Regions from separate parts of the Homo sapiens genome. Here regions 1, 2 and 4 are each linked to region 3. The links are contacts of gene promoters, found by promoter capture Hi-C in human tissues and cell types (Jung and others, 2019). All regions are on one chromosome and are shown on one strand. The core of a region is centred on a gene start or on the middle of the fragment in contact, and the rest is flanking DNA. Distances in the headings are between cores, read along the strand shown. Region 1 has its middle 61 kb from the start of CFAP144. Region 2 overlaps SLC2A1 (solute carrier family 2 member 1). Region 3 holds the start of MED8 (mediator complex subunit 8). Region 4 overlaps LOC339539 (a long non-coding RNA gene).

Region 1 (5,258 bases), core at 742-3,241, 300 kb before region 3:
TGTATTTTTAGTAGAGACGGGGTTTCACTGTGTTAGCCAGGATGGTCTCGATCTCCTGACCTCGTGATCCGCCCTCCTCGGCCTCCCAAAGTGCTGCGATTGCAGGCATGAACCACTGCGCCCAGCCTTAGGAAACAGTTTTTAAGCAGACATATTATAAAACATAATTGTTGTTAAAAAGTTCATTTATAAACTTTATCCAAGTTATAGCTATTTAGATCACTTTTTTTTTAACAATTATGCCTAGAATACTCATGAAAATTAAATGAGACATTAGAGACAAAGTTAGCCATCTTTTTAGGTTATTTCCCCATTAACCATTTATACATCATGAGCATATCAGGCAGTCATTGCTGAAGCAGGAACCCTAAAGTAAAATACATGGGTATTTCATTGATAACCCAGAAGACACAGCTGTTTTCATTAAACCAAATGATATTAAGCTTGTCTTATTTGCCAAAGACTCATCTACGTCACGTGAACTTGACAAGCATGTTGGGTTAGTTCCCATATTTCTAGCAGTTTTAGGTATTGCTCATTTATTTCTAAGCCAATTCAAATAATGCTTTTTACAAATATTAGTAGAAAAGACCTTTAAGATATTTCATTTGCTCAATTTTTAAATAGCCAAAAATCATGCCCACGAGAAAGAAAGTAGACAGATGGGGCACAGCATACAGTTAGCAGGGGTCCAAGAAGAGGGGCTTAGTTGACTGAGAAGTTTTCATGGGAGAAGCAGGATCCAATAGAGACAATAGAAAGCTCCCCCCTCTCCCCACCCCCACCAAAATTACAAGCTTCCAATTAAGCTGACTTATGTTGATAGAGCTCTTTAAAAGTCCTTTAAAAATATCTTATAATCAGGTTTCAGCTGGGACAAACAGCAAATATTCCTGGCAATATTAAATTCCTTTTTTTTCCCCGTGAGTATATGGTTCCATTTCAGCTTAGGAGAGAAGGCCAAACAAACAAAAAAGACCTTCCTATCATGCTGCAAATATACAAATAATTCAAACTAATTTTTGCAAGTGTTTCTTTCCTAAGCTAAATAAATTTACTGAAAAAAGAATTTATGGCAGGTTTAAAGGATTTGAACTGTCAGGCCTCTGAGCCCAAGCCAAGCCATCGCATCCCCTGTGACTTGCACGTATACGCCCAGGTGGCCTGAAGTAACTGAAGAATCACGAAAGAAGTGAAAATGCCCGGCCCTGCCTTAACTGATGACATTGTCTTGTGAAATTCCTTCTCCTGGCTCATCCTGGCTCAAAAGCTCCCCCACTGAGTACCTTGTGACCCCCACTCCTGCCCGCCAGAAAACAACTCCCCTTTTTCCTTTACCTACCTAAATCCTATAAAACGACCCCACCCCATCTCCCTTCACTGACTCTCTTTTCAGACTCAGCCTGCCTGCACCCAGGTGAAATAAACAGCCATGTTGCTCACACAAAGCCTCTTTGGTGGTCTCTTCACACAGACGCGCATGAAATTTGGTGCCGTGACTCGGATCGGGGGACCTCCCTTAGGAGATCAATCCCCTGTCCTCCTGTTCTTTGCTCTGTGAGAAAGATCCACCTACAACCTCAGGTCCTCAGACCAACCAGCCCAAGAAACATCTCACCAATTTCAAATCCGGTAAGTGGCCTCTTTTTACTCTCTTCTCCAACCTCCCTCACTATCCCTCAACCTCTTTCTCCTTTCAATCTTGGCGCCACACTTCAATCTCTCCCTTCTTTTAATTTCAATTCCTTTCATTTTCTGGTAGAGACAAAGGAGACACGTTTTATCCGTGGACCCAAAACTCCAGCGCCGGTCGCGGACTGGGAAGGCAGCCTTCCCCTGGTGTTTAATCATTGCAGGGACACCTCTCTGATTATTCATCCATGCTTCAGAGGTGTCAGACCACGCAGGGATGCCTGCCTTGGTCCTTCACCCTTAGCGGCAAGTCCCACTTTTCTGGGGGAGGGGCAAGTACCCCAACCCCTTCTGTGTCTCTACCCCTTCTCGGCCTTTCTGGGAGGCAAGAAACCCCCAACCCCTTCTCCTTTACCCTTAGTGGCAAGTCCCACTTTTCTAAGGGAGGGGCAAGTACCCCAACCTCGTATCTCTGCACCCCAATCCCTTATTTCCACACCCCAACCTCTTATCTCTGCACCCTGATCCTTTATTTCCGTGCCCCGACCTCTTATCTCTGCACCCCAACCCCTTATTTCTGCGCCCCGACCCCTTTCCCCCTTTTCTGGAGGGTAAGAACCCCTGAACCACTTCCCTCCGTGTCTCTACTCTCCCTTTTCTTTAAACTTGCCTATAGGCAACCTTCCACCCTCCATTCCTCCTTCTTCTCCCTTAGCCTGTGTTCTTAAGAACATAAAACCTCTTCAACTCTCGCCTGACCTAAAACCTAAATGCCTTATTTTCTTCTACAATGCCACTTGACCCCAATACAAACTCGACAGCGGTTCCAAATAGCCAGAAAATGGCACTTTCAATTTTTTCCATCCTACAAGATCTAAATAATTCTTGTCATAAAATAGGCAAACGGTCTGAGGTGCCTGATGTCCAGGCATTCTTTTATACATTGTTCCCTCCCTAGTCTCTGTTCCCAATGTGACTCGTCCCAGATCCTCCTTCTTTCCCTCCCGCCTGTCCCCTCAGTCCCAACCCCAAGCGTCGCTAAGTCTTTCTAATCTTCCTTTTCTACAGACCCATCTGACCTCTCCCCTCCTTGCCAGGCCGAGCCAGGTCCCAATTCTTCCTCAGCCTCTGCTCCCCACCCTATAATCCTTTTATCACCTCCCCTCCTCACACCTGGTCCAGCTTACAGTTTCGTTCTGCGACTAGCCTTCCCCCACCTGCCCAGCAATTTCCTCTTAAAAAGGTGGCTGAAGCTAAAGGCATAGTCAAGGTTAATGCTCCTTTTTCTTTATCAGACCTCTCCCAAATCAGTGAGCATTTAGGCTCTTTCATCAAATATGAAAAACCCAGCCCAGTTCGTGGCTCATTCGGCAGCAACCCTGAGACGCTTTACAGCCCTAGACCCTAAAAAGTCAAAAGGCTGTCTTATTCTCAATATACATTTTATTACCCAATCTGCCCCCGACATTAAATAAAACTCCAAAAATTAAATTCCGGCCCTCAAACCCCACAACAGGACTTAATTAACCTCACCTTCAAGGTGTACAATAACAGAGTAGAGGCAGCCAAGTAGCAACATATTTCTGAGTTGCAATTCTTTGCCTCCACAGTGAGACAAACCCCAGCCACATCTCTAGCACACAAGAACTCCAAACGCCTGAACCGCAGCTGCCAAGGGTTCCTCCAGAATCTCCTCTCCCAGGAGCTTGCTACAAGTGCCGGAAATCTGGCCACTAGGCCAGGGAATGCCCACAGCCTGGGATTCCTCCTAAGCCGTGTCCCATCTGTGCAGGACCCCACTGGAAATCGGACTGTTCAACTCACCTGGCAGCCACTCCCAGAGCCCCTGGAACTCTGGCCCAAGGCTCTCTGACTGACTCCTTCCCAGATCTTCTTGGCTTAGCATCTGAAGACTGACACTGCCCGATTGCCTCAGAAGCCCACAGGACCATCACAGACACTCTAGGTAACTCTCACAGTAGAGAGTAAATCCGCCCACTTCTTAATCAATATGGAGGCTACTCACTCCACATTACCTTCTTTTCAAGGGCCTGTTTCCCTTGCTTCCATAACTGTTGTGAGTATTGACGGCCAGGCTTCTAAACCTCTTAAAACTCCCCAACTCTGGTGCCAACTTAGACAATACTCTTTTAAGCACTCCTTTTTAGTTATCCCCACCTGCCTAGTTCCCTTATTAGACCGAGACACTTTAACTAAATTATCTGCTTCCCTGACTATTCCTGGGCTACAGCCACACCTCATTGCCGCCTTTTCCCTCAGTTCAAAGCCTCTTTCACATCCTCCCCTTGTATCTCCCCACCTTAACCCACAAGTATGACACCTCTACTCCCTCCTTAGCGACCGATCATGCACCCCTTAACCATCCCATTAAAACCTAATCGCTCTTACCCCGCTCAATGCCAATATCCCATCCCACAGCATGCTTTGAAAGGATTAAAGCCTGTTATCACTCGCCTGTTACAGCATGGCCTTTTAAAGCCTATAAACTCTCCTTACCATTCCCCCATTTTACCTGTCCTAAAACCAGACAAGGCTTACAGGTTTGTTCAGGATCTGTGCCTTATCAACCAAATTGTTTTGCCTATCCACCCCGTGGTGCCAAACCCATATACTCTCCTATCCTCAATACCTCCCTCTACAACCCCTTATTCTGTTCTGGATCTCAAACATGCTTTCTTTACTATTCATTTGCACCCTTCATCCCAGCCTCTCTTCACTTTTACTTAGACTGACCCTGACACCCATTAGGCTCAACAAATTACCTGGGCTATACTGCCGCAAGGCTTCACAGACAGCCCCCATTACTTCAGTCAAGCCCAAATTTCATCCTCATCTGTTACCTATCTTGGCATAATTCTCATAAAAACACCTGTGCTCTCCCTGCTGGTCATGTCCAATTAATCTCCCAAACCTCAATTCCTTACAAAACAACAACTCCTTTCCTTCCTAGGCATGGTTAGTGCAGTCAGAATTCTTACACAAGAGCCAGGACCGCACCCTGTAGCCTTTTTGTCCAAATAACTTGACCCTACTGTTTTAGGCTGGCCATCATGTCTCCATGAAGCGGCTGCTGCTGCCCTAATACTTTTAGAGGCCCTCAAAATCACAAACTATGCTCAACTCACTCTCTACAGCTCTCATAATTTCCAAAATCTATTTTCTTCCTCACACCTGACACATATACTTTCTGCTCCCCGGCTCCTTCAGCTGTACTCACTCTTTGTTAAGTCTCCCACAATTACCATTGTTCCTGGCCCGGACTTCAATCCAGCCTCCCACATTATTCCTGATACCACACCTGACCCCCATAACTGTATCTCTCTGATCCACCTGACATTCACCCCATTTCCCCATATTTCCTTCTTTCCTGTTCCTCACCCTGATCATGCTTGATTTATTGATGGCAGTTCCACCAGGCCTAATCACCACACACCAGCAAAGGCAGGCTATGCTATAGTACAAGCGACTAGCCCGCCTCTTAGAACCTCACATTTCCTTTCCATCCTGGAAATCTATCCTCAAGGAAATCACTTCTCAGTGTTCCATTTGCTATTCTACTACCCCTCAGGGATTATTCAGGCCTCCTCCCTTTCCTACACATCAAG
Region 2 (5,707 bases), core at 1,888-4,387, 450 kb before region 3:
GTTGGGGCAACTGACAAGAGGGCTGTGTGTAAGTGAGGTGTGACCAGAGCTCCACCCTGAGTTACGTCTCCTGCCTGTGGTCACACAGTCAAAGGGACCCAACCTTGTCCAGGGCTGGCTCCTGGACGCTGCCTAGCTGCTCTGTTACTCAGACCACTTTATGGGGTGGAGGAAGGGTGAGCAGCCAGCTCTCTGCATGTTCACCTTGGCCTAGACCCATCCTCTCCAGCCCACAGCAGCACTTCCTGGCCAAGCTGAGGCTGGGGAGTGGGTTTCTGCCTCTTGATGCCTGAGATTTCTGGGAAGAAGCCACGCCTGGTTTTCCAATTCCTACTGCTGGTTCCGGTGCTCTGTGCCCTCTCCTCCCTGGGGATTCGTATGGGGTTCCACGCTGACTCTTGGCCCAGGAAAGGCAGGGGGATGCTGGAGAATGAGAAGAACCCTACATGGGGAAAAGCTCTGGGGTCACATCCTCCCTAGAAGTGTCTGGGTGCACCTCAGGAAAGAAGAGTCTACTTATTATGCCCTGACAGGATCCCACAGGCCCAATCCCGCCGGCTCCCAGCAGCCTCCGCAACCCTGGGTCATGTGTGAGGTGAGACCTGGCACGTGCCTGTTCTGAACGCTCCCACCTCACATGCCCGTCCCAAGCTTAGGATTTAAACACTTGATGCTGCCACCACCCCACATCCATCCATCACCAGGTCCTCTCGATTCTGCCTCCGAGTCTGTCCTACTTCTCTACCCAGGCAGCCTGCCCTGGGTCTCATCTGGATTCTGCTCCCGACTCTTCCTATCCACCAAAGTCAGACCCCATTTCCCACAGTGAACCACCCCTCAGAATGCAGTCGGAGTCCTGCACACCAAATGTGCCAGGCTCGGCCATCCACCCGCTTCTCTGCTCCCTTCCCAGCCCAGTCTCTTCACCCAGCTGTGGAGTCTGGGTGGCGGCAAGCGTGTTGAGGAGGGAGGAGCGGTTCTGGTTAGTTCCTGGGGGGACTGCCATGGTGTCGGCCAGCCTAGAGCTGAGGGGCTACTACAGATCTCTGTCCAGGTGCCTCACTGAGCCTAGAGGACACCCACCATGGAGACCACCCTGGAGAAGCAGGTTGACTCTGGGCAGCTGAGATCCTTTGAACCGGATGGCTTCTGGTACGCGAAGCTATTCCTCACCCGGTGGCTCTCCTGGGGTGAGGGGGAGGCCTGCCCAAGCCTAAGGACACCTGGGAATCCCCACACCACCTCCCGCCAGTCGAGGCAACTGTGGGTGAGACTACATGTCTGCCCATCTGCCAAGGAACTTCTCACTTCCCCTTTGTAGAGGGGCATGAGGCGGCGAACACTGCCTGGCACATGGGTAAGCTGTTACTGCTGTCACTGTTGCTCTCTCAAGAAAAGAAGTCACCACTTTCGGAGGAGCCTTAGGGACAAGGTTTTCCATTTTGAAATTGCCAGAAATCATTACCCTAAGAATGTAAGAGTAAGGAGGAACCTGAAGGAACTACGGGCCTGCCTCAGGGAATAAAGCTAGTCTCCAGACCCTGCTCGGCTGCTCCTGGCAGAGGAACCCAGCACTCTGTAGCCCCAGAGGGCAGAGGTGCCAGGGCCAGACTCCAGCTCAGGGGAAGGAAGAGCTTTATAGACTTCAGGGTATGAGGCTGCCCACCTTACAGGTGGTGAGTTCCCTGTAAGTAGGGAGCATGCAAGTCAAAGTGCTCCAGAGCCGGACTGGGGTAAACATTTTATGTAAAAGGCTAGCTAGAATCCATTAGGTAGGGTCTGTGAGCCACATATGGCCTCTGTCACTCATTGTTCTTTTTTTCTCAACCTTGTAAAAATGTAAAAACCATTGTTAGCTCATGGGTTGCACAAAAACAGGCTGCTGGCTGGATGTGGCCCTCCTGCCAACCCTTGATCTAGGATTCTAGACCACTGCCAGGAGGGGTATGCGTTTTGGAACCTCTGGCTGGTCTCACCATCCTTCCCTCTAGACATTCCTTTACCCCAGGAGGACTAGGTCAGTTAGGTCATCCCCAGCAGGGATCCCTGGGCCAGGTTTAGGCTCGGTCTCAACTCTCCCTGTGCTCTACGGGATGCTATTGTGGGGAAGAAGGGGCTAAACTGCCAGCCAAGCTTTCAGCGCCAGTTACAAGGAGGAAAGGGCCAGCTTCTCCGGCTTAGCCTCTCAGCCTGGCCTTCACCCCTGTTCCTTGCCTGCCCCTGTCTTCCAGTTGGGGCTGGCCCCACACTGCCCTTCCCACAAGCTCTCAGCCCAGGGCCTTCATCTCCACAGCAACTCTCAGCCACACCCCAGGGTGAGCTGGGAGATTGGAGCCAGATGTTCCAGGTGGGGCTGGACAGATAACCCTGCCCACTGGGTCCCCTGGGGCCTCACTTTGGGGCCTGGGGGAAGAGGCCCAGGTTGGGGCTAGAGCTGGGCCCCAACCCCCCTGCAGAGGGCTGGACCACCCAGGCTGCTTCCCTGGAACAGCCCTGACATGGCTAGCCTCCAAACCAAGGCCAGGCCAGGCCAGGCCTCCCGGTAGACAGAGGAATCATCCCACTGCCGTGGCCACACCCGAAGCCCTTCTCAGCTCTTGCAATAAAGTGTCTCCTCTACCCCAACTATGACTCACAAGGCACACGCAGTGACTCCCTCATACGACCTAGACACCTCACACCTTTGCTTGGGCCTAATCACCTTTCAGAACATGCACAGATACTCCTCTGGAAAGCCTTCCTCCCGAGAACCACCCCTCCCACTCCACTGCAACTGGTTCTCAAACAGAGACGGCTTTGGTACCCCATAGGACATCTGCCAATGCCCAGAGACATTTTTGGTTGCCACACTGGCTACTGGTATCTAGAGGGCAGAAGCCAAGGATGCTGATAAACATCCTCCAATGCATGGGACAGGCCTCTACAACACCAGCAGAAACATCACAGTGCCAAGCTGAGAAACCCTGCTCTAAGGGCGAAGCACCCTCTCCCTCTTCCTTCCCTGCTCCCACTGTGCTTGCTCGCATTTCCATCATCGCCTTTAGAAGACTAACTGTAAGGTACCGTGTGCTCCCTGTACAGTAAACCTCAGCACGGAGATGGTCTGTCTGATGCATCCATGTTGCTGGTGCCCAGCACGGTGGTGGAGGTGCAGAGTTGACACTAAATGACCAACAAGCCATGAATCTAACTGAAGGGCTTGAGGGGTGATGTGATATGACAGGGTGTGATGGTGTAAGAGATTGTGCAACTGTGTGTGGGAAACCTGAGATGTTGGTACATGACTGAGCTTGACTCAGCTCCAAAGTGAGACCACACACTGCCAGCTAGGTGGCAGTTGTAGGTGAGTGAAAGGGTGTTTAGGTGCCCATCTGGGACTGTGTCCATCTTCCACAATGGTCAAGGGCACAGACTAGGGCCAGACTCCCCGGAGTTACATTGCAGCCTTGCCACTTACTAGCTGTGTGTCCTTGCTTTAATTGCTTAACATTCCTGTGCCCCAGTTTCTTATAGAGCAGGGAAAATTATGGTGTCTGCCTAATGGGGTTATTTTGAAGAACAACTGAATTACTATTTCTAGAGTATGTATAACAATGCCTGGGCAAGCTATAAGTAAGCAGTAAGGGTTTATGGTAGTGGTGACGGGTGAAGGGGAGAGAGGACTAGAACTCTTTGGATATAGGAGAGAGAAGGAGAGGCTGCCTAGAGCACGAAGCCCAGTTCAGCCTGACGGGACACAGGGCTTGGGTTGGGAGGCGGGTGTTGCCTCCAGCTCTTTCACTCACCAAGCTGGGTCATCCTGGGCAGACCTCACCTCCTCTGCAGACCAGGTTCCTCCTTTGTCAAACAAGGAGTGTTGTTTGTCAAACAACTGAGGCCTTTCTGGCCCAAACTCTGGATTCTGAGGATGCCTTATTCTCAGACATGCCTGACACTGTCCCTTGGGCCAGGACTTCATGGTTTCTCAGTGGCCGTCAGTCATCTCTACTGGCAGCTCAGTCATTTGGGGAGGGGAAAGGCAGTGCTCGGATGAGCCCAGTATGATGGTCAGGATTCCCTGGTTCATTTAGCTGCTCCCTCTGTGGCTGGGCTCACCTCTTCTGCTCTGTCCTCCTCCTCCAGGAGGGGATGCATGGCAGGAATGTCCTGTCACACTCACAGCAGGGCAGGGGCAGTGTGCAGAGCTGGGGAGGCACAAGGCCTGGAGCCCACCTCTAGCTCAGCCTCTCACTCTCCAGATACCTCATCTGGCTTCAGTTCCCTCATTTAGAAGAGGGGAAGATGTCAGCCCCGCCTGCCTTGTAGAGTTGCTGTGAGGTGGTAATTTATGGGGTGGTGCTTTGTAAACATATAAGGTAGTATGATTAATTAACCACTTCCAGGAGGAAGCCCTTTGGGGCCTGTTTTATGGAAGAGAACAAGCTTCTGGCATCCTCACCACTTGTGGGGCAAAGTCTCTTCTCAAGAGTAGGCAAACTGTGGCCAACCCAATGCTGTTTCCTAAGAGAGGTTCTTCTAAACAGACAAGGGAAGTCAGTGTGCCCACTGCAGGCAGTTAGCAATTCCGCATCAGCAGAACATTTCACACCCCTGCACCTCTGCAGAAGCCCCTCTCACTGCCCAGACACCTGCCCCTCCTGCCCTATGAGGTCAACTAACCCTTCAAGGTCGAGCATGGCTGCCAAGTCCTTCGTGAAGCCCTTTTTTTAATCTCCCCTGTCACCCCAGCCCCAGCATTAGTTGCCCCGTTTGCTCTCACAGCACCTTGAAGCCCTCTGTTAGTGACACTCTGGCTTTCTCCAAGGGGTCTCTCCCACTGCTGTGGAGACAGGGCCTGGCTCAGACTGTGTCTCAGGCAGCTCCCTGAGGGCCAGCATGTGCCTGCTGTGTTCACAGCTATACTTCTCTCTCCTTACTGTCTAGGACCGCATCTGGCACAGCGTGGATGCTCAGGAAGTCCTGGCTGAATGAAAGGGTTGGCCAGATGGAATCTCTGTGTCGCCCTAGGGCAGGCCTTCAGCCTACGCGGGCACAGGAGTCTCTCTGCCCTGTTACTACACATGGGCTCTGAGCCTCACTTTCATTTCTTCTTCTTGGGTCCTTCTGTCCTCTCTTCACATGTTACATGTATCACTTCTAATCTGGCTCCTGGTTGGAAAAACTACAGCCAGCCTTGTGAGAAGTGTTTGTAAAGTACAAAAGTCAACAGACCAAGTGTCTGGGTGCTTGCCCAAGAAACACCGCTAGATTTCAGCGTTCTCAGTTCTGGCCACTCACATCTCCAGCTTCGGTCTGCTGGGGCTGGTTCCTGAAGTGACCTTTGGACAGGTGACCATACATGGTCCTATGAATGCAGTTTACAGGCTCATCTGGGCCCTCTGTGCTGCTGACCAGCCCCGTGATGCCCTGGTCAGAGGTTCTGCCCATATTCCATGACAGTTATAACCTCTTGCCTATTTCTGATTAGATGGGAGGCCCCGGGGATCACAGAAGTTCATCTCAGATTTGTCTACATCTTCAGAAGTCTCTCAGTCCCTGGCTGGGCATGGTGGCTCATACCTGTAATCCCAGCACTTTGGGAGGCCAAGGCAGGTGGATCGCCTGAGGTCAGGAGTTTGAGACCAGCCTCACCAACCTGGTGAAACCCCATCTCTACTAAAAACACAAAAATTAGCTGGGCGTGGTGGTACACACCTGTACCAGTAGC
Region 3 (5,655 bases), core at 1,677-4,176:
CCAATGCGGGCAGCATCTGTCGTCAGTTGCTTCTCCTGTTCTTCCACTTCAGGGTCAGGCTTGGTTCTCAGATGGTCAGGGACTACCTCATGGCTGAAAACAGGCACCCGTCCTTCAGTCTGCCGCTGTAACACACAGATTTTATTGATCCTACTCTGTACTCCAAGAAGATTCTATCTGGCCTGACATAAAGTCCCATCCACAGGCAAACAGTGCATTTTCAAGGAAAATACAACCTGAGACATAATATCTAGTTTGCTAGGACACACTCTCCTTTACTCCATCCTTCATTTTTTGTGTCTTCTCACATCCCTATCTCTACCAGACCTAGGGGCAAATTAAACTATCACTGTCTGCCACGCTTCAAAGACTGGAATAGACAAAGTCACAAAAGGGCAAACTTTGTGGCTTGAGACAGATGTTGGAGAAGAAAGGTATCAGCCTTGGTGACATACCCCTCAGGTTATTACAGCACTATTTGGGAGTGGCTCTCCCGCCTTCAGAAGAACAAAAAGCAAGGCCTCCAAAATTATTTCTAGGCTCTCAGCTAATAACTTAATTTCCCTAAATACTAAAGAAGCCTAAAAAACCCCTTAATTTCCCAAGTTGTATTCTTTTTCTCCTCTTACCATGAGATCTTCATCTCGGTCTGGAGACAACACCAGAGGAATGATGACCTGGTTACGGAACAGCGGTGTTTTTTCATGCTTCAAGACCTTGTTCAGAGTGTTCAGCTGTCCAGAAAGCAAGGCAAAGCTGTCCAGGACAGATGGCCTGGTGGTGGTAACAAGGTGTAAGAATGTTGTACCCCTTCCCTGGGTGGTTCTTAGTAAAATAGTCCTAGTTCCTTCAGGCTAGGAACACTTGGATTCACCTCCAAAAGTCTCATAGCCCTATGACTAGCCTAAGTGGGAACAGACTAACAGGGATGACAGGGCTATGAAAGAGGGACATAGTTTCAGTTTATGAAACAGACGTAGAAAAAACCCAGTTCATTGTTTGAATGGGGTGAGGAACAGTGGCAAAATAGGAACCAGGGCTACACTGTTATAACTAAAACTTCAGAAACCGGGTAAAAGCCTCCTTTCCAGCCTGGAAATAAGATCCACACTTCAGAGTAGGTTGGCTCTAAAAGACTCAGCCACATCTGTGGCAAGAGATCCAGCACGAATAGAGCTGTAGTGGGAGGACCTCCTCACCAGAGAAGTCAAAGGGTAAGAATTGAAAGCTAGAAAGAACTTGGGTTAGGAAACTGAGCATTTCTCTACTTCCTTGCCATGGAATCCACTTGCTAAATGTTAGGAAACCCAGCTCTTTCCAAATCAAAAGATGTTTGCAAACTGATAAATGGTTACATCATTAGAAATGTCCTATTCATCAGGAGGCTAGGCCCCCCCACCCATAAGCCCTTCCTAGCTTGCCCTGGTAACTCTTACCAGGTCAGCCGGCCATACTCGTTCTCCAACTTGCAAATGAAACTCCCCAGAGAGTTCTTCAGATCAGCCACTTGACTCAGCAGTGCATCTAATGATGCCTCAAGCTGCTTCTCCTCTCTCTGCACCAATAGGAACAGGTTGGTCACCCAGATAAACGAGTATGACACATAGAAAGGAGGGCTGGAAAGCCAAGGAGATGGTGTGCAACACCAGTCAGGTAACACAGGATCTCATTGGCATAGGATAGCCAGGTTGTTTTCTATCTTTGGTATTTGGGTTATAGACAGCATCAACCCTGAGACCTTCCAACCTGTTTGCCTGACCCCAAGTCCTTCCACCAACTGATTCCTTTTCCCCATCACCTCCTAATCTATGCCTGGTTTTTCTCTGTGTTAGGTACACCCTACACTCCCTCACTGAGACATTTTCGACAGACCTAATGCCAGGAGATCATTCTCTCATGTGCACCTCTGTAGCACATGCACTCCAGCTTCCTCCATCCTAGCATCTGTGAGCCTGGCTGTCTTGTCAGTCTCTGGGAAATCTGCCTACTCATGAAGACTTCTCTGAACACCAGTCCTGCTCTCCCCTTTCCCTCCCCCAACCAACGACTCCAGCTTTCCATCTGCTCTCATCATTTTGTTTCAACCTTCTCCTTGCTGAATTAATATGCAATCATCTATCTCTGTGTCAATATTCCCGTGCCTCTTTCACAAGCTCAGTCAACCCATTAACATTTATTGAGACTACCAGCTGCAAGAAACTAAGTGACAAATGAAAAACAAAAACCACACATGCTTCTAAGCACTGGACAAACAAATTAAAATGCTGGGGGTCTGCAAAGCATTTCCTTCCCATCGGTGGTCTCCTGTTTTACTCCATTTCTTCACCCTTAACAACTATAGGGCACAGGCTGGGAAGAGGGATGCAAAACTGTCTTGCAAACCTGCCTGACAGAAACTTGATCCCGGGTTCCACCATGGCCTCTGATTATAAGCTGCTTAGCTTTCAGCCATCGCGGCCCACAATTCCCTCACTGCTTGGGCTTCTTTCCAATTAGATCCCCTGCTATATCGGCAACCAACAGCCTCCATCCAGCAGCTTAGGACAGGGCCTGAGCCAACCCACCACCTTCTTGAGCCGTCTTCCTTGGACTGCATCTCAGCCTCCCCGTATTACAACCTAATCCTTTCCCACGCCAAGCAAACAGGTGCTGCCTCCTCCCTCCGGATTTAGCCCGACTGTCTCCTGTCAGGCAAGCTCCACCCCCACCTCTAATCGCCGCCGCTCCCGCTCCAATTAGCCTCGCCCCCCAGCCCACATTCCCTTATCAGCCGTGGGTTCTGCCCTCTCTTCTCAGTCCCAACTCTTCATTCTCCTTAGCCAGCCCACTCTCGGTCCCTGTACCCGAAGCTTGCCAGCCGCTAGTACGCCCAACGCAACTCTCACCTGCATTGCGGCGGCCGAGGCGGCTGCCACGATTTCACTTCCGGTTTTCCAGTCAGCAAACGCCTACGAGAAGGCTTCGTCCACCAATCAGAAAACTGGAACTCGGCCCTCCCACCAACTTCCGGTTCCTGCTGGGTGCCGAGGTAGCGAGGTCAGGGGTCAAGAGTGGAACACCCTCACTGGCCCGGGCCGGCGCGGGAGGGCTGTGTGATGGCCTCGGAGCGCCCGGAGCCGGAGGTGAGGGGCGGGCGGGCGCAGCACTGGGCCCCGAGATCCGAGGGGGAGGGTCCGGCGGGCAGGCGTGGCGTTGGCCTCCTCTAGGTCTGGGGGTGGCCGGGCTGCGTAGCCTCGGCAGGGACCAGCCCAGCCCGGAAGGCCCGACTATGGTACCCCTGCGGACTGTGTATGGGACGCGGTCCGCAGTTTCCTCGGGGAGCTAAAGGAGTAACTGTTCGCTTTGTTTTGTTTACTGACATGTCACCCGCGTCGTCGTCTCTAAGACTTATAGCGGTGTTAACAAAACTTGTATTTTGACTTTCTGTTGCAGTTTCAATGGGCAACACGGCAGTAGATTTACTTTGCTGGTTTTTGCATTTCTTTAGGCATTGGAATACCATAAACAGCATGAATTTATTTAGTTCTAGGGCTCATGCTTTTAGAAAAGCAGCTTTAATTTCATGAAAAAAACATTTGAGTCGGACTGAGACCTCGTTCCAATATTGGCGCTGTCATGTAGCTAATCTGTGCAACCTCAGGCGAGTCTTCCCGGATCCTGTTTCCTTCTTTATAAAATATCTGTCTTATAGTGTGTTGTGAGAATCACATGTAATAAACCAGAAAGGTGATATGATATATTCGTTAAATGCTAAGGAACATGCAAGGAACCTTATATATGTTGTGTCATTCAGACTTGTGCAAGGAAGGTGGCATTCTCACAGAGGAGAAAACTGAAAAATGAGAAAGATTTAGTACCTTACTCAAATGCCACTCATCCAGGAACTAGCAGTTTGGAGTTAGAAGATCTGAGCTTAAAATCTCAGATTCGGATAAAACACCACCACCAGGAAAGGTGCCAACATATCAGTAGGTGGGAAGGGTGAGAGATGTGTATAATGATAGAAATAGTATTCATTACTGCATACATACTGCATGCTCAGTACCATTCTAAGCTCTTTACCAATATCAGTTAATCCTCAGCCCTATGAAGTGGACACTGTATCATCTCCTTTTTTTAGTTTAGGAACTGAGGCACAGAGATATTAAGAGTAACAAAGTAAGCCGGGCGCAGTGGCTTACACCTGTAATCCCAACACTGGGAGGCCGAGGTGGGCAGATCACCTGAGGTGAGGAGTTCGAGACCAGCCTGACCAACATGGAGAAAGCCTGTCTGTACTGAAAATGCAAAATTAGCCAAGCATGGTGGCGCAGGCCTGTAATCTCAGCTACTCGGGAGGCTGAGGCAGGAGAATCGCTTGAACCCGGGAGGTGGAGGTTGCGATGAGCTGAGATCATGCCATTGCACTTCAGCCTGGGCAACAAGAGTGAAACTCCGTCTCAAAAAAAAAAAAAAGTAACAAAGTTACACAGCTATTAAGTATTAGAGTCAGGACTCCAAAACAGATGGCCAGGCTCCAGTCCTTGTGTTCTTAACCATATTGTTCATGGTATAAGTAATAAAGTAGCCACAGAATGGTAAATCTCCAGTTCACTGGGATTTGGTGTGGTAAGACCCAACATTGAATATGGTGGTAGGAAACTATGCCTTATTTAAAATAGTCATGTTCACAGAGGTGGTAGAATAGCTCATGCATCAGAAATATCAATCAAGATCAATCAGAAATATTAACACAAGAAAAACTATGAAACAGTTTAGAGGATGTTTCATTATAGATTAAAGTGAAAGGAGGTGGAGGGATGTTGTGGGGAAATGCAACATACCTTTTAGGCAGATAGTCTAGGACAACACCGTCCTGTAGAAATCTAAAGCAAGCCACATGTGTAATATTAAATTTTCTGATAGCCACATAAAAAAATGAAACAAGGCCGGGCGCGGTGGCTCACGCCTGTAATCCCAGCACTTTGGGAGGCCGAGGCGGGCGGATCACGAGGTCAGGAGATCGAGACCATCCTGGCTAAAACGGTGAAACCCTGTCTCTACTAAAAAAAATACAAAAAATTAGCTGGGCGTGGTGGCGGGCGCCTGTAGTCCCAGCTACTCGGGAGGCTGAGGCAGGAGAATGGCGTGAACCCGGGAGGCGGAGCTTGCAGTGAGCTGAGATTGTGCCACTGCAGTCCAGCCTGGGCGACAGAGCGAGACTCCGTCTCAAAAAAAAAAAAAAAAAAAAAAAAAAAAAAAAAAAAAAAAAAAATGAAACAAATGAAATAAAATGTAATTATATATTTAACCCAAAACTCCCAAAATTTTCAAAATGTAATAAAATACAAAACATCGTGAGATATTTAACATTTTTTTTGGTACCAAGTCTTTAAAATCTAGTGTTGTATTTTACACTGATAGCACATCCCATCTTGGTCTAGCAACATTGTAAGTGCTCAGTAGCCCCATATAGTAGTCTTTACCATATAGAGCAGTACAGATCTAAAGTAATTTCAAGTCAAGACACACAATCCTGGGAGTCTCAGCCAAAAGTTAAGCTTTTTTTTTTTTTTTTTTGAGACGAAGTCTCGCTCTGTCGCCCAGGCTGGAGTGCAGTGGTGCGATCTTGGCTCACTGCAACCTCCGCCTCCCGGGTTCACGCCATTCTCCTGC
Region 4 (5,479 bases), core at 31-2,530, 510 kb before region 3:
TAACCAGTTAAAACACAAAAATTTTTCAGATTAGTTAAGAAAACCCCTGTGGCTTACTCCTGTAATCCCAGCACTTTGGGAGACTGGGGCAGGAGGATTTATTGAGGCCAGGAGTTCCAGGCCAACCTGGGCAACATCCCTGTAATCCGAGCTACTCAGGAAGATGAGGCAGGAGGATCTTTTTACAGGAGTTCGAGGCTGCAGTATGCTATAATCATGCCACTGCACTTCAGCCTGGGCAACAGAGTGAGACCCTGTTGCTAAAGAAAAAAAGGAGGAAAGAAAGAAAAAAAGAAACCCTCAAATCCTGTTATATGTTATTTATAAGAAATAAACCTAAAATGTAAGCACACAGAAAGGTTGAAAGTACAAGAATTTAAAAAATTATCCCAAGGAATTACCAATTAAAAGAAATTTAGTGTGTAGAAAATATAGACTTTAAAGAAAAAAGCATTATTAGGGATACAAATGGCCACATAATGAGGAGTTACAATTCACTAGTAATATATATTTCCAAAGTTATAAGCACCTCAAAAGTTATGTGTAGCCTTGTTTCTTTGAGTGGAAGCTCTAAGAATCAGTGTGTATTTTGCCACAGTGCTCTTTTTTCCACTGCTATGGCAACCAGGATTGTTCTAGGTAGTACCTTCTCCATCAGCCCAGGTCCCAGACTGAGGACGAGGACAATACTCCTAGCCAATTCATGATGGACATGTGTCATGAGCAAGAAATAAATCTTTGGCTGGGTGTGGTGGCTCACGCCTGTAATCCCAGCACTTTGGGAGGCCGAGGCGGGTGGATCACGAGGTCAGGAGATCGAGACTATCCTAGCTAACATGGTGAAACCCCATCTCTACTAAAAATACAAAAAATTAGCTGGGCATGGTTGCGGGCACCTGTAGTCCCAGCTACTCGGGAGGCTGAGGCAGGAGAATGGCGTGAATCCGGGAGGCAGAGCTTGCAGTGAGCCAAGATCACACCACTGCACTCCAGCCTGGGTGAAAGAGTGAAATTCCATCTCAAAAAAAAAAAAAAAGAAAGAAAGAAATCTTTTATGGGTTCTTCTTTTTTGACAGCTTTATTGAGGCACAGCTGACACAATTTGATAAGTTTTGACATAGGTTTGCACCTATAAAGCCATCACCACATCAAGATAATGAACACATCTATCACACCTAAAAGTTTCTTCATGCCCTTTGTGATCCCTTTCCCTCATCCCTCTTCTCTGTCCATTGGCTTTCAGGTGAATGTTGAATCTGCTTTTGTCACCGTAGATTAGCTTACATTTTCTAGAATTTTGTATAAATGGGATCATGCAGTATGTATTCTTGTTTTGGTTGGTCTGCTTTCTTTCACTCAGCATAATTATTTTGAGATTCATGCATTATGTAGTGTATATAAATATTTATCCATTTTTATTGTTGAATTTTATTTCATTGGATAGCCATACATTTATATGTTTATCCATTCACCTCTTGATGGACATTTTGAGTGTGTCCAGTTTGGGGTTATTACAAATAAAGCTGCTATGAACATTTCTGTAGAATTCTTTGTATAGCCAAATTGTCACAGGATCCTTAGGGTGTCACTTTTCCAGCTGGAAGCCTCTGTGGCCAGTGGCACCTTTGCCCGAGTTGTGCTTGGGTCTACTAGGCTCATTCTGCCCACTCAACCTCACAGGCTGTGCTCAGCTTGTTCTACTGGCCCGGATCCCATGCCTGCCAAGGGTGAGCCAGGTGCAGAGTGATGAGAGGTGCATGAGAGAGGTGCATGGGGTCCAGCCACTGCACACAGCCAGGCACACCAGCTGCTGTGGGTGGGCAGCTCCAGGCGCTGGCCCAGGTGCTGGCTCCATGTGAGGCTGTGGCTGGACCAGGCATAGTGCATGTGGCTTCCACTGTGGGCTCCAGGGAATGTGGTGCCTCCAGGAAGCTTGGAGATACCAGGAACCACAGAGCCCCAAAGAGGGTGTCACAGCCCTGGCTCAGAGAGCCCTTAGGTTTGGACTCCCTGAAGGACTGCAGCTCTTCTCTCCTTCTCATCACTTGCAATGTGGCAAGCCAGTGGGAGGGGGTGGGATGTGTTTCAGCCCTGTTTGTGTTACAGCTCTTTCAGCCCTACCATTTGGCGGGTCCCGAGTTCTTGTCCTGCATCCAGGAAGAATGAGGTATGCAGACAACTGGAAGGTAAGCAAGGCGAAAAGGTGCTTTATTGACCAACAGTACAGCTCTCAGGAGACCCAATGTAGGTAGCTCCTTTCCACAGGCAGTTCATCCTGTCAAGTGCAGCCCTCAGAAGAGAGGAGACCCAGAGTGGGTAGCTCCTATCTGCAGGCAGGTTGTCCCAACATCTGTGTGACTCTGAGTCTGGCTGAGTCTGGGTTTTTTATGGGCTTCAGAAGGGAGGAAGTGTGTGCTTATTGATCCATGGGTGGCCACACGTGGGCCCAGAAAAAGCACCATAAGTTCTCATTCCAGGCTGCAGACTCCATCCAGAACTGACAGCCGAGTTCCCATGCTCCAGGACGTTTCTGGCATGAAGATGGGGCTTCACCGGGGACCTGCCCAGAATCCTGTCAGCCTCCTGCCACCATCAATCATGTCATCCACAGTGCCCAGGCTGTTTGTGCTGAAGGGTGCCTGCAGGCCCATGCCTAGATGCCCTCAGAACCCCCTCAATCTCAAAGTCTGGAGGTGGCCGAGGCGGCAGGGGGCTGGTGTGTCAACGCCACCCTGAGTGCACTCCCACACCCTGCTGGGTTGTGACAGTGCCCAGGCTTGGCCTCAACTTTGTTCCAAAATCAGAGCATGCACTGGATACAGGGATAGGCCAGGCAAGGGGAGCAGGTACTTCCAAGCCTGCAGGGGCAGGGGGGCTTCCTGGGCCCCCGAGAGTGCAAGGATGCCTGGATCCATAACCACAGCTGGGTGGCTGCAGCTGTGCCTGGGATAGCAGGTCTCCCACCCTGCCAACTTGGAAAAAGGTGGGGCTCCTACCTGTTTCCAGCTCCCAGCTCTTTGGTGCATGCAGTTCCAGCTGGGTCTCCTCCATTGCAAAGCCAGCAACTTTGCAGTGGCCACTCTAGATGGGCTGCAGCTGCCATCAATATGCTTTCATTTCTCTTGGGTAAATAAATAACTAGAAATGGCTGGCTCAAGTGGTAGGTATATGCTTACCTTTTTAAAAAACTGCCAAACTGTTTTCCAAAGTATACCGTTGTGATTTTCATGTTTGTTTCCCTAGTGGCCAATGATGTTGAAAATATTTTTATGTGCTTATTTGCATCCATATATCTTATTTGGTGAAGTGTCTGTTTACATATTTTTTTCCATTTTTTATTGGGTTGTTTTCTTTTTCAATTCAAAATTTCTGGTCTTTGAAAGATACTTTAAACAGAATAGAAAGACAATTGGGTATGTGTGAATATAAATAGTAGCACAGGGAGATCTTTATAATAATATAATTGTTCTGTATCTTGATTGTTGTGGTGGTTACACAAATATACACATGTGATAAAATGATATAGAACTATACACATACATTGTATCCATGTGTTATTCCTGGTTTTGATAGTGTACCTTAATTATGTCAGATACAACCATTGGGGGAAACTGATTGAAGGGTATACAGGGACTCTCTACTATCTTTGCAACTACCTCTAAATCTAAAATTATTTCAAAATTAAAAATTTTAAAATAGACAATTCACAGACCTTCTAAAGTAAATTGTATGTGGATGATTGATTATAAGGGGAAAAATAAAATGGATCCCTATCTTACAACATACACAAAAGTCAATTCCTAGAGTATTTGAGACCTATATATAAACAGAAAAATTGTTATACAAGACAATATAGAAGATTATCTTTTTGACTACTGGATAGGAAAATATTTCTTAATTTGGTCAAAAATGGACAAACTAAAAGAAAGAATATCAATGAATTTGACTACATTAACATTAAACATTTCACATAAAAAAAGTGAAAAGGGCCGGGCACAGTGGCTCACGCCTGTAATCCCAGCACTTTGGGAGGCCGAGATGGGCAGATAACCTGAGGACAGCAGTTCGAGACCAGCCTGGATGACATGGTGAAACCCTGCCTCTACTAAAAATACAAAAATTAGCCGGGCATGGTGGCACATGCCTGTAATCCCACCTACTCGGGAGGCTGAGGCAGGAGAATCACTTGAACCTAGGAGGTGGAGGTTGCAGTGAGCTGAGATTATGCCATTGCACTCCAGCCTGGGCAACAGAGCAAGACTCTGACTCAGAAAAAAAAAAAGAAAGAAAGAAAGAAAAAAAGAGTGAAAAGATGAGCTACAAAATGAGAGAATAATTGCAACACATAAAGCTAAGTAAGATTTGATATGTAGAATATGTAAATAATTTCTTAAGTCAATAAGAAGAGACAATTCAGTTAGCAAAATGGACAAAAAAAAGCATTATTTCCACTCAATAAAAAGCATAAACAATATGTAAACATATTTTAAAATGTTCAGGTTCATTCAAAGTCAGGAAAATGTGTGTTGAGACCACAGTAAAATCCAGTTTCACAACCGCCAAATATAAAAGTTGGATAATACCAAATGTTAACGAGAATATGGCATAATAGGAACTTTTGTATGTTTCTAATATTGGTATAAATTGGAAAATTCCCATAGGAAAATTGTATGGCATTACCTTAAAAAGTTGAACATGCATGTACCCTACAATCTAGCAATTCTACTACAAGGTATATTCCCTAGGGAAACTCTTGCATGTGGGCACCAAGAAACATGTAGAAGACTGTGTATAGTGGCATTGTCCATAATGGCAAAACAAACAAAAATAACAAAAGCAACTGGAAAAAACTGAAATGTCCAATATTATAGTTTTGAGATTTATCTATGTTGTCACATGTATTCTTTGATTTTTACTGCTCTATAGTTTTATAGAGTATGAATTTTATTGTATTCTTTTTAGGGGAATGCTTCAAATTATTTATTATCATTAAAGTCACTAAAGCCAGACCATTTGTTTTTTTGTTTTTTTTTTTGAGACGGAGTCTCACTCTGTCAAGAAGGCTAGAGTGCAATGGCACGATCTCGGCTCACTGCAACCTCCACCTCCCAGGTTCAAGCCATTCTCCTGCCTCAGCCTCCCAAGTAGCTGGGATTACAGGTGCCCACCATCACGCCCGGCTACTTTTTTGTATTTTTAGTAGAGATGGGGTTTCACTATGTTGGCCCAGTGGGTCTTGAACTCCTGACCTCGTGATCCGCCCACAAGCCAGACCATTTTACTAGTGAGCTTTTACTAAACTTTCAAAGGAACTGATGATTCTTGTCTTATACATGTTGTTCCAAAGGGGAAAAAAATTTTCAACTCATTTTTAAGAGGTTGAAATAATATTGATAACAAAAACATTTAAGGGCAATAGAATGGACAATCTTATTTATGACATGGATGCAAAAATTTTAATAAAATATTAATTTTAAGT

What was found. Contacts are between HindIII fragments. The study calls those that stand out against the background at their distance.
Region 1: a fragment that was not itself captured here is called in contact with the fragment with the promoter of MED8 in region 3 in 1 of the 25 tissues and cell types used here (spleen).
Region 2: a contact is called between a fragment that was not itself captured here and the fragment with the promoter of MED8 in region 3, in 1 of the 25 tissues and cell types used here (dorsolateral prefrontal cortex).
Region 4: a contact is called between a fragment that was not itself captured here and the fragment with the promoter of MED8 in region 3, in 1 of the 25 tissues and cell types used here (liver).

The regions. Positions count from the first base shown.
Region 1 is chr1:43,084,438-43,089,695 of GRCh38, forward strand. No RefSeq gene overlaps it. Among named protein-coding and RNA genes, the nearest start is that of CFAP144, 61 kb to the right of the region's middle. The HindIII fragment of the contact is 6,717 bases long and covers 1-5,258 here.
Region 2 is chr1:42,934,129-42,939,835 of GRCh38, forward strand. All of the region lies in intron 2 of SLC2A1 (solute carrier family 2 member 1), which reads right to left. Among named protein-coding and RNA genes, the nearest start is that of SLC2A1, 22 kb to the right of the region's middle. RefSeq lists enhancers at 518-1,310, 2,685-2,754. The HindIII fragment of the contact is 5,642 bases long and covers 317-5,707 here.
Region 3 is chr1:43,386,874-43,392,528 of GRCh38, forward strand. It overlaps MED8 (mediator complex subunit 8), which reads right to left and starts at 2,927. Exons shown (of 7, transcript NM_201542.5): 1 at 2,886-2,927; 2 at 1,437-1,555; 3 at 630-774; 4 at 1-125. The coding sequence starts at 2,891. It overlaps SZT2 (SZT2 subunit of KICSTOR complex), which reads left to right and starts at 3,026. Exons shown (of 72, transcript NM_001365999.1): 1 at 3,026-3,122. The coding sequence starts at 3,096. RefSeq lists an enhancer at 1,437-1,576 and a silencer at 3,017-3,346. The HindIII fragment of the contact is 6,675 bases long and covers 237-5,655 here.
Region 4 is chr1:42,878,248-42,883,726 of GRCh38, forward strand. LOC339539 (a long non-coding RNA gene) reads left to right here. Exons shown (of 4, transcript NR_104171.1): 3 at 2,107-2,186. Among named protein-coding and RNA genes, the nearest start is that of ZNF691, 34 kb to the left of the region's middle. The HindIII fragment of the contact is 7,806 bases long and covers 1-5,183 here.